Regions from separate parts of the Homo sapiens genome. Here all the other regions are linked to region 1. Evidence: promoter capture Hi-C in human tissues and cell types (Jung and others, 2019). All regions are on one chromosome and are shown on one strand. The core of a region is centred on a gene start or on the middle of the fragment in contact, and the rest is flanking DNA. Distances in the headings are between cores, read along the strand shown. Region 1 holds the start of C1QTNF1-AS1 (C1QTNF1 antisense RNA 1). Region 2 overlaps RBFOX3 (RNA binding fox-1 homolog 3). Region 3 overlaps RBFOX3 (RNA binding fox-1 homolog 3).

What was found. The method cuts DNA at HindIII sites, captures the fragments that hold promoters and counts their contacts. A contact is called where the count stands out against the background at its distance.
Region 2: a fragment that was not itself captured here is called in contact with the fragment with the promoter of C1QTNF1-AS1 in region 1 in 3 of the 25 tissues and cell types used here (liver, lymphoblastoid cells and thymus).
Region 3: a fragment that was not itself captured here is called in contact with the fragment with the promoter of C1QTNF1-AS1 in region 1 in 3 of the 25 tissues and cell types used here (dorsolateral prefrontal cortex, lymphoblastoid cells and mesendoderm cells).

Annotation. Positions count from the first base shown.
Region 1 is chr17:79,026,130-79,028,966 of GRCh38, reverse strand. It overlaps C1QTNF1-AS1 (C1QTNF1 antisense RNA 1), which reads left to right and starts at 1,312. Exons shown (of 3, transcript NR_040019.1): 1 at 1,312-1,591. The region is part of intron 1 of C1QTNF1 (C1q and TNF related 1); the gene reads right to left. The HindIII fragment of the contact is 4,721 bases long and covers 1-1,334 here.
Region 2 is chr17:79,094,142-79,097,152 of GRCh38, reverse strand. It overlaps RBFOX3 (RNA binding fox-1 homolog 3), which reads left to right. Exons shown (of 15, transcript NM_001350451.2): 12 at 320-500; 13 at 1,579-1,640; 14 at 2,624-2,702. Among named protein-coding and RNA genes, the nearest start is that of ENGASE, 21 kb to the right of the region's middle. The HindIII fragment of the contact is 6,672 bases long and covers 1-3,011 here.
Region 3 is chr17:79,148,128-79,151,092 of GRCh38, reverse strand. The region is part of intron 4 of RBFOX3 (RNA binding fox-1 homolog 3); the gene reads left to right. Among named protein-coding and RNA genes, the nearest start is that of ENGASE, 75 kb to the right of the region's middle. The HindIII fragment of the contact is 7,480 bases long and covers 1-2,965 here.

The DNA.
Region 1 (2,837 bases), core at 63-2,562:
TTTAATTCCTTTGGATTTAGGCACAGGATCACCAGGAACACCCGCGCGTGCATGCACACACACACACACACACACACACACACCTTAAAATGTGAGGGGCTTGGGCAGTGTGGCCCATCGGATGTGCATTTTTAGGGCACTGCTTTTGTAGGGTGAAGAGACACCAGCATGCTGGCAAGCTCTGAAGAAGGGAGGAAAAGACCCATGTGCTGGGGTACAGATGATTTTTCTCTCCCGACCAGTGCCCTCTAATGGGCACAAGCAGACCTGAGCTCTGAGTTGCAAAGGAATCTAAGTTCACGCACCACACGGGGAGGACCCTCAGGACCATGGGCCTTGCCCTCATTGATATCCTTTCATGGAGGAGGGGGCTCCCCTGAATGCCAGAGGACGCAAGAGACCTGTGGTCACCCCCTAACCCACCCAGATCCTTCCATCTCTCACTTTAGATTCTTTACAAGGAGAATGGGTCTAAGCGTTTTCTGAACACACCTCTGTCCCCAGCTCTGAAGACTGGCCCCAGGAACCTGTGGGCAGAGTCAGGGGGCCCTGCCCGCCTTCTGACCTACATCTGCCTCGAACCCACCCAGGGCTGGCAGCTTTCCCAGCAGCTTCCCTGCTCCCCAGGGCAGAGGGTGGCTGTTATCCAGATGTCTTGCTGAGGGGGATGGGTACAACCCAAAGCATAGGGTTTGGGGCATTCCACCAAGTGTGGCTTTAGCCGTGGCCAAGAACAACATTTGACCCAGCACAGGGCACCAAGAACTTGACTTCCCCATGCCCCGCCTGCCTGTCTGCCTCTTCTCCTCCTCCCCTCGACTCCTGCCTCCCTGCCTGCCGTCTCCTGCTCTACTCTGTCTCGTGTCAAGGAAAATTCCTACAGGAGCCAGGGAGATGGGCAGACACCGGCCCGGCCACAGCCGTCCCGACGGCCGTCCTGGACAGGATGGGGGCCCGGGGAGGGGCCTGCAGTCTGTGCCAGCCCCATCTGAAGCTGGAGAACGGCTTAGATCCAGGGGGCCTCAGAGGCAAGATAGCAGTGCCCTGGTGTACAGTGGGGACTGTGGGGGTCCCCGTGCCCCTGCTGGAGACCATCCCCCTTTGAACCACATTCAGATGCCAAGCCCAGCTCTGGAAATCAAATGTAGGCAAGAACAGGCAGCTGGAGGGGTGCTGATTTGCCAAGAGCCACTCATATCACCCCAGCACAAGTGTCACACAGCCGTGACCTTGACAAGGACCCAGAGATAAAGATCCTTCCCACATGGCTCCGAAGCCCCTCCCTTCCTGCTCACACCGCATGCCTCTCCCAGAGAACTAGAGGCTGCAGCGGCAGCAGTTGGAGCATCTCACTGCGGGGCTCGGGAAGGAGGAAAGGAGTGAGCATGTCCTGCTCCTGCATGTCCCTGCTTAAGCTCAGGACTGGCCCTTCCAGGCCAAGGACCCCAGCATAGACCCCAGGACAGGGCCCCAAGGATCCCTGGCTCATGAGAGCGGCTTGCTGGGCTGCCCCAAGAGAGCCTGAAGGAAACACATTGTTGAGCTGAGCTGACGTCGCTGTTTCTTCCAGACTGCTCTCTAAAGTGGGCAGGTGAGTTCTTGCCCTGTATGAAGGGGTCAGGGAGATGGCAGGGTCCTGTCCAGAGAGCTGCCTTGTGCCATTTGACACCAGCAGGCCAATTTCAGCAGGTTAACAGGGGAAATGGCAACCTGTGGCCCATGAGGGAGTGCCCCCACTTGAACATCTCTAGAGGCTACTGATTGTCAGGCAGAGGTGGGATCGTCCAGGGGATGGTGTAACCTGCTACTTCTTCCTGCCCTTCCTGGTGTCCGTCACCCCCACCCCTTCCCTAAGGTTCTGGAGCCTCAGCCACAGCCCCCCCCCGCCCAGGAACAGGGACCCCTGAGGACAAGACACAAATGGGAAGCTCCAGTCCCTGCGCACAACTGTATCTATGAAATTCTTTTCATCTTTGTTTTGATGAGCAAAGTTCAATGCCAGAATATTTGGTTTATGAGTCATGCTAATTACAGCTGGGGGGAGGCACCAGGAAGAAGAACAGAAAGGAGCATGTTCCAAAAACACTCTGTTGTCCTGGTTGCCCTGAAAAGGGGGGTCACTTCCTAGGAACAAGGAGGGAACCCATGGCCTTCCTGGGACAGCTTGGGCTTTCTCTGCTCCTACTTGGGAGGACGTCCCTCGCCAGCTGGCTGCACCTGCCTGGGAGGGGCAGTGGTGTCCTGTAGCCGCACAGCGCCCACCTAGGGCTTCCTGCACCATGCTTCCTGCCTCCCTGAATGAGCTCACTGGGGACACCACCCTTGGCAACACAAGAGGAGGAGAGGGAGGCGGGAGGAGAAGTAGAGAGTCCCTGGGTAGCGGACCTGTGTCCTTCCTGCCCCTGGGCATTCTCTGTTAGCAGCTGGGAGAGAGAAGTTCCCAGCATCAGCTTGGCGAGCTGAGTGCCATGTTCCCAACACCAGATAGGAAGGTTAAAAGTATACGCCCCGGAGGCCAGGCGCGGTGGCTCACCCCTGTAATCCCAGCACTTTGGAAGGTTGAAGCGGGTGGATCACTTGAGGTCAAGAGTTTGAGACCAGCCTGACCAACAGGGTGAAACCCAGTCTCTACTAAAAATACAAAATTAGCCAGGCGTGGTGGTACACACCTCTAATCCAGCTACTTGGGAGGCTGAGGCAGGAGAATCGCTTGAACCTGGGAGGTGGAGGTTGCAGTGAGCCGAGATTTGGCCTTGCACTCCAGCCTGGATGACAAAAGCGAAACTCTGTCTCAAAAAAAAAAAGAAGCATATGACGCACTTGGGATAAAGACACAG
Region 2 (3,011 bases), core at 1-2,500, 68 kb before region 1:
CTCAGCCCTGCAGCTGCCTCCATTATCTTCACCCCTATCCCCACCACGGCGGGCATCGCGGAGGTCACTGGCATTTAGGGGGACATTCAGAGCCCCAGAACCTTGTCTGGATGCTTTAATGGGGCCGTTGTCCACTCTTGAGGTCAGCGAGGGGCTTCTCTGAGCCCTCTCTGCTCCCATTCCCTGGGGTCTGGTGCCCTCCATCACTAAAGGGGTGGGGGGCACAGCTGCCTGGGGTCGGGTGGGCTATGGGCCCCGGGGTTTGTGGGAGAAAGTTGCTGATCAGCAAGGGTGTTACTCTATTGTTATACCAAAACAGGGCACTGGAGCAAACGCTTGTTAAAATGCCAGTCCCATGGGCGGGGCTGGCACCGTGCCCCCTCCCTCCTCAGCAGACACCGGAGCCGGCCTACCCCACCTCTCCAGCGTTCCCACCACTTTCTTGTCCGTTTGCTTCCAGGGTCGTGTATCAGGATGGATTTTATGGTGCTGAGATTTATGTAAGTGTAGCCCCGCCGGGAGGGAGGGTGGGATCAGGCGTTCTGTGGGTCTCAATGAGAAGTCGGCGTCTCCTCTCTCACTGCCCGCTCCTCCCATCCCATCCCATCCCACCCTTGAAGCCAGGAGGGCGAGGGTGCCACGTCTGCCCAGAGTATGGCATCCCTGAGAATCCCAGCATGGCACAGTTTGGTTGTTGGTACCCATCAAGGGAGCAGTTAATGGGCCGCCCAGCAGCCCTGTGAGCTGAAACCATCTTCCTGTGGGCAAGGCCTCATATAATGGGGGCAGTGGGACTCTGCCACGTCCCTAACCACGCTGCGGTCAGTGAGTGAGCCCCTAAGGCACCCACAGCACGGGCTGCAAGAGGGGCCAGGAGGCAGGGCCCCTGGGTGCCTGTGCTCCAGGGCCTACCCCCCTTGATGGGGTCCGGTGGCCTTTCTCCCCCTTCATGGGGCCACATGTGCTGCTTCCTCTGTCTCAGACTCACTGACGGCCACACCCCATGTACCCAGCCACCCTTCAGTCCTGGGCAGCTGCCTACAATTCAGTTACCTGCCCATTTGAGGCCAGGACATCATCTGAGCTCACGTCCTCTTGTGCCCTTTACCCTTGACCCTTCCTGGTGTCCAGGACACTATCCAGAGTCACTGTGGGTTCTCCCAGCCCCTCAGCATCCAAGTCAGGCCTCAGTGGCCTGGTGGCAGGTCTGTGAGCACCTCTTCCTTGCCAAGGCCTAGCACCCAGCCAGATGAGTCATGGGTACCCGCTAATGTGTGTGGAGTGCACAGATGGATGTGTGAATGAATGAGTGAATGAATGGAGTGGACAGGCAGACCTGCCTCGCCCTGAACTGTGCCACCTAGCCATCTGCAGTCCTCGGTCCTGTGTTAGACCAGAACTAGGTGCCCAGGCCAGGTACCACCTAATCCTTACCCAGCCGAGGCTGGGAGGCTGGGAAGGTCTGTAGTCCCTCCCAGGGCCCCACCCGCACAGGGTCTGTCTCCTCTCCCCACTCAGCCTTTCCCTGGGGAGCCCCACTAAGTCCCTCTGCTCTCTCTCCTCCCACTTACCCTGCAGGGAGGCTACGCAGCCTACAGATACGCTCAGCCCGCTGCAGCGGCGGCAGCCTACAGCGACAGGTGAGGCCGGGGGCCAGCACTGTTCTGGAGCAGGGTGGGGAGAAGATGGACAAGGATCCCTGGGGAGCTGGGCCCAGACAGGCAGGAGGCGTAACCCACTCTTCCAGGCCTGGCGGGAGTAGGGTCGGGACAGGGGAGCAGGTCTGAGTGTGGCCCTTGAGCCAGTGAGCCCCTGACTTCAGTCACTTCCTGCTTACCCCATGGGGAGGCTGTGGAAACCCCAGGTGGAGACCGCATCTCTGATTCCCAGTCCCCCCACCGCCCCCCGCAAGCCCCGTGCCCACAGTGGCTGTCTGTCTTGGAGGCAGACGCTTGAGTGCTTCCTCCTGGAGCAACCTAGCCTAGTGCCTTTCCCCTCAGACATCTGGCCTGTTGGTAGCTGAGCTCCACCACTCTGGTCTGGGGACCGCTTGTACCCCCTCCCTCCTGGCAGCCCCGGCTCCATCTCCCTGAAGTGTGGTGTACAGGGTGCCGTGGCCCAGCTCTGCTCTCTAAGGAGCTGAGAGTTCCCTGCACAGACAAACTGCTGAAGGGAAAGTCGTGAGGGACACAAGTGTCACATTCTTGGGGGCAGTGTTCCTGGTCCCTCCTCGTTGACCCTCTCTCTTCTCTTGAAACCCTCCCCAGTATTTACCACATTCTTTTTGGGGTGGAAGTTTGTTTTCCCTGCAGACGAGCTCCATGAGGACACCATCCCCCTCCACGTAGCACTGAGTGGAACACACCCCCTCCCCCCACCCCGTCAGGGTCAGCACACTGTGGGCATATTGAGAGGGTTGCCTGTTGTGTTCCAGAAGCTTCCTTCTTAACAAGAAGGAGGGGTAGGCCTTGCAGGCCTTGCAGGAGGGGAGGGTGCCTTGCAGATGGGACCTCGGTACAGGGTGCCCATGTAGTGTCTGGGAGGAGGTGGGAGGCCGTTGCTGCCCCTCACCTGCCCCCCTCCCCCACCCTCCTCCCACTCCCCCTCCCACGCTCTTCCCTAGTTACGGCAGAGTCTACGCAGCTGCCGACCCGTACCATCACACCATCGGGCCCGCGGCGACCTACAGCATTGGAACCATGGTAAGGAGCCCAGGCCCGCCCAGCCCTGGGTGCCAGTCCTAACAGCTGGGCATGGGTGGTGAGGCCCTTGGGGGAGAGGCCGAGCCCTCTGACCAATGCCTTGGTCCCGGAGACTTTGGAAGGACCACGGCCTGGATGTGAGTTAGGGTGAGGGGAGGGCTGGCCCCTCACGCCCTCTCAGTTGCGGGGAAGCAGGTTGAATGGCTGGTCAGCCCACCGTACCATCTGGTCCTCTGGAAAGCACCCCAATGTGCCTGATCCGTTTCCCTGAGCTCCCTCACTATAATAAAGTCCCGTTGAGGCCCCTCC
Region 3 (2,965 bases), core at 347-2,846, 120 kb before region 1:
CTGAGAGTCCAGGGCCCAGCATGGTGGAGGGATGTGTGTGTGCTGAGCACTTGCGGAGCGTGGACTGGGGAGGTGGCCTTGCCCTGGTGAGAGCCGCACAGCAGCGGGGCGGCCACCAGCACTGCCCAGCCCTCTGTGGCAGGCAGCAAGCCAGGCTCGTTGCCCAACTGAGGCTCCCTCGCAGGCGGCGCTAGGCATGAGCAAGCCCTCGTCCTCCCATTGCGCACACGGGGACACTGAGGCTCGAGCTGAGGTGACCCCCCTGAGGCCCCATGGCCAGTCAGAGGCACCCTGTGGCCTCTGCAGTTCCCTGCCCCCCTCTTTTCTCGGAAGTGCCCATCCCTACCTGCCTCTTCTCTGGCTAAGAATGTGGGGCAGGTGTGGGGTTGCTGGGGAAAGGAGGAGATGGGAGGTGAATCTGTTGCCCCTGCCCCTGGCAGGCCTGGCCTTGCCCCCAGAGGTGGTCAGGTATCCCCTACTTCAGTGACAGCTCTGGTGGCCCTGCACCTCCCATTGTCTCCCCTGGTTCTCAAAGAAGTTGAGCCAGCGCGGCCACCTGTAGAGTGTCCGGCAGTTCAGCTGCCTCCTATCTTGAGTGATGGGCAGGCGGGACCAGGGTGAGGTTGAGGCACTGAAGGAACCTCCTGGGCTGGGGAACAGGGTATGGGGGTTGCGGATGGAGCTGAGTTAGGGGGTTGGCCGCCTGCAGAGCCCAGAGAACGGCCAGGCCTCTACTGTCTGCGTGTCCCAGGCCCACAGCAGCCACTCTGCCCCTTGACCCAGAGCGTCCTACCCAAGCAGAGTGGCCTGGGCCCCAGCCAGGACCCCCCACGAGGCTTTGTGCCTTGAGGGCCTCAGTCTCCTGGGACGTGGCTGCTGCTCTAGGTCGTGGCCCACAGCTGCCGCCCACCGCTGCCCACCACCCTCTTGTCCTGACCTCAAGGGCAGCTCCTGGTTGCCCCTCCCCTGTGGATACCTGAGAGTCCCTCCTTGTCTGCCTCCAACTAGATCCACCCCAAACCCCCACCCTCAACCCCCATCCCCATCCCCCACCCCCACCCCCCACCCTCAACCCCCATCCCCATCCCCCACCCCCACCCCCATCCCCATCCCCACCCTCAGCCCCCATCCCCATCCCCACCCTGGCACTTAGCCTGAGTCCTCAGCGCAGCCACTGTCACTGCTTATTATAACACCTGTCCCCCTCCTGTCTCCAGGCCCCAGAGGAGGAGGCTGGCAGCCATCTCTGTCCCCTCACCCTGGCACTCAGAGATGCTCAGTGGAAGCTCAGCTCATGGCGATGCCCAGCAGCCGCCCTGCCCTGTCCTCCCAGGACCTGCAGGTCCGTTTACTGACCCCACTCGACATCCCAGGGTCTTGGGTCCGACAAAGTGAGAGAAGGCCTGAGCGGGCGGGCATGAGCCCCTAGGCCACCCCCAACCTTCTGCAGTGTGTGGGGACGGTCCAGCTGGCGGGGAAGGCAGTGGTCAAGCAGTCCCGAAGGAGGAATCGTCCACGGACCCCCCCAGGCACACTTCCCACTGCCCCACCCACTTCACAGCCTGAAGCTCCTCCCCACAGCCCACCAAAGTCCTTCTCACTGAGGCCAGGTCCACTCTCGTGTCCAGCCCTGCTCCTCCCCCAGGACAGCAATGCCCGTGTTCCAATCCAACGAGTGGGGAGAGCCACCAGGAGGGGCCGGGGCTGGGCCTGAGCCAAGCCCCCCTTTGTCCTCCCCCGTGCCCCCACTCCCCCCACTGCCTGCATCTGGGCTCCCCGTGGCTGCACCGGGCCAGGGAGGGGTCCCGAGATGCTGCCTCCCACGCTCTACTAAGCCCCAGATGGATGCCCTGCCACCTTCCCAGGCCTTTGCTAATTTGGAAACACCATCCCTGGTGTAACCCCGGCAATAATAGCACAGACGTCGCATTTTCCTGGCAGGCAGCGGGGGTCCCAGCCTGGGTGCTGCGGGAGCCTCCATGCCCTGGAGGATCTCCTTGTGCTTCTTAAGCTTTAGAGTGCGCTGTTCGTCAGTGGTGGGAGCTGCAGGCTGAGTGTTTGAATCCCACCCAGTCCAAGCCCAGAACAGCATGAGGGTTTTATGGTTAGCGTTTCTTGAATGAATTATTCCAGCCCCTTGAAGTTCCTGGAGAAAGCCCCAGGCTGTCCCCCTCCATCCCCCATGACCTTACAAACTCAGGACCTGATCAGTGCCAGCGAGGGTGGTCTCAGCCTTTCCCATCCTCTGGGGACTTTGGCCTTAGCCTACCCCAGCCAGGCCCGCAGAGGCCCTCGGAGGCTGCAGGGAGCCCCGGCGGGGTCGGCCTCCCTCCCCTGCGTCCTCAGACTCTGTGGCCTGTGCTTCTGGGATAGAGTCGCCCAACTCTCATCACTTCCAGGAAGCAACTGCCTCATGTCGGGCACTGAGATTAGATCTTGGTCTTAGTTTATTCTCAACAACCTGTAAGGTGGCCCCAACTACTGTTAGCCTCAGTTGAAGACTAGGAAGCGGATACCCAGAGAAGTTCAGTGGCCTTCGGGAGGCACTCAGTGGCCGGGGACAGAGGCAGGATTGGAACCATGGTCTGGGGGGGTGTGGGGTGCTTCTCCCTCCTCCTGTGGCTCAAACCTGGGTTTGGCTTCAGGCTGTGGCATGAGCCCTGCCCCTTCCACCCCCCAACTTCTGTCACCCAGGCCCCAGCAGTGGGGCACAGGGCATGTTTGAGCTTCTAGAAACATCTAGACTTGGACCCGCCCCAAGCCAGGAAAGAGTTTCTGAGTGAGGCCTGCAGGAGGCAGCCGAGAGGCTTGGGAAGGGACCTTGGGAGGCTGGAGAAGGGACTGTGGGTGGGAAACGGGACCCCAGTCCTCCAACCAGAATGGAGACTCCAGGCACAGAACACAGCTGCAAGGAGTGTTAGCCATGACCGCTCCCAAAACCTAGAGAGGCTACCGTGTTCCTGTC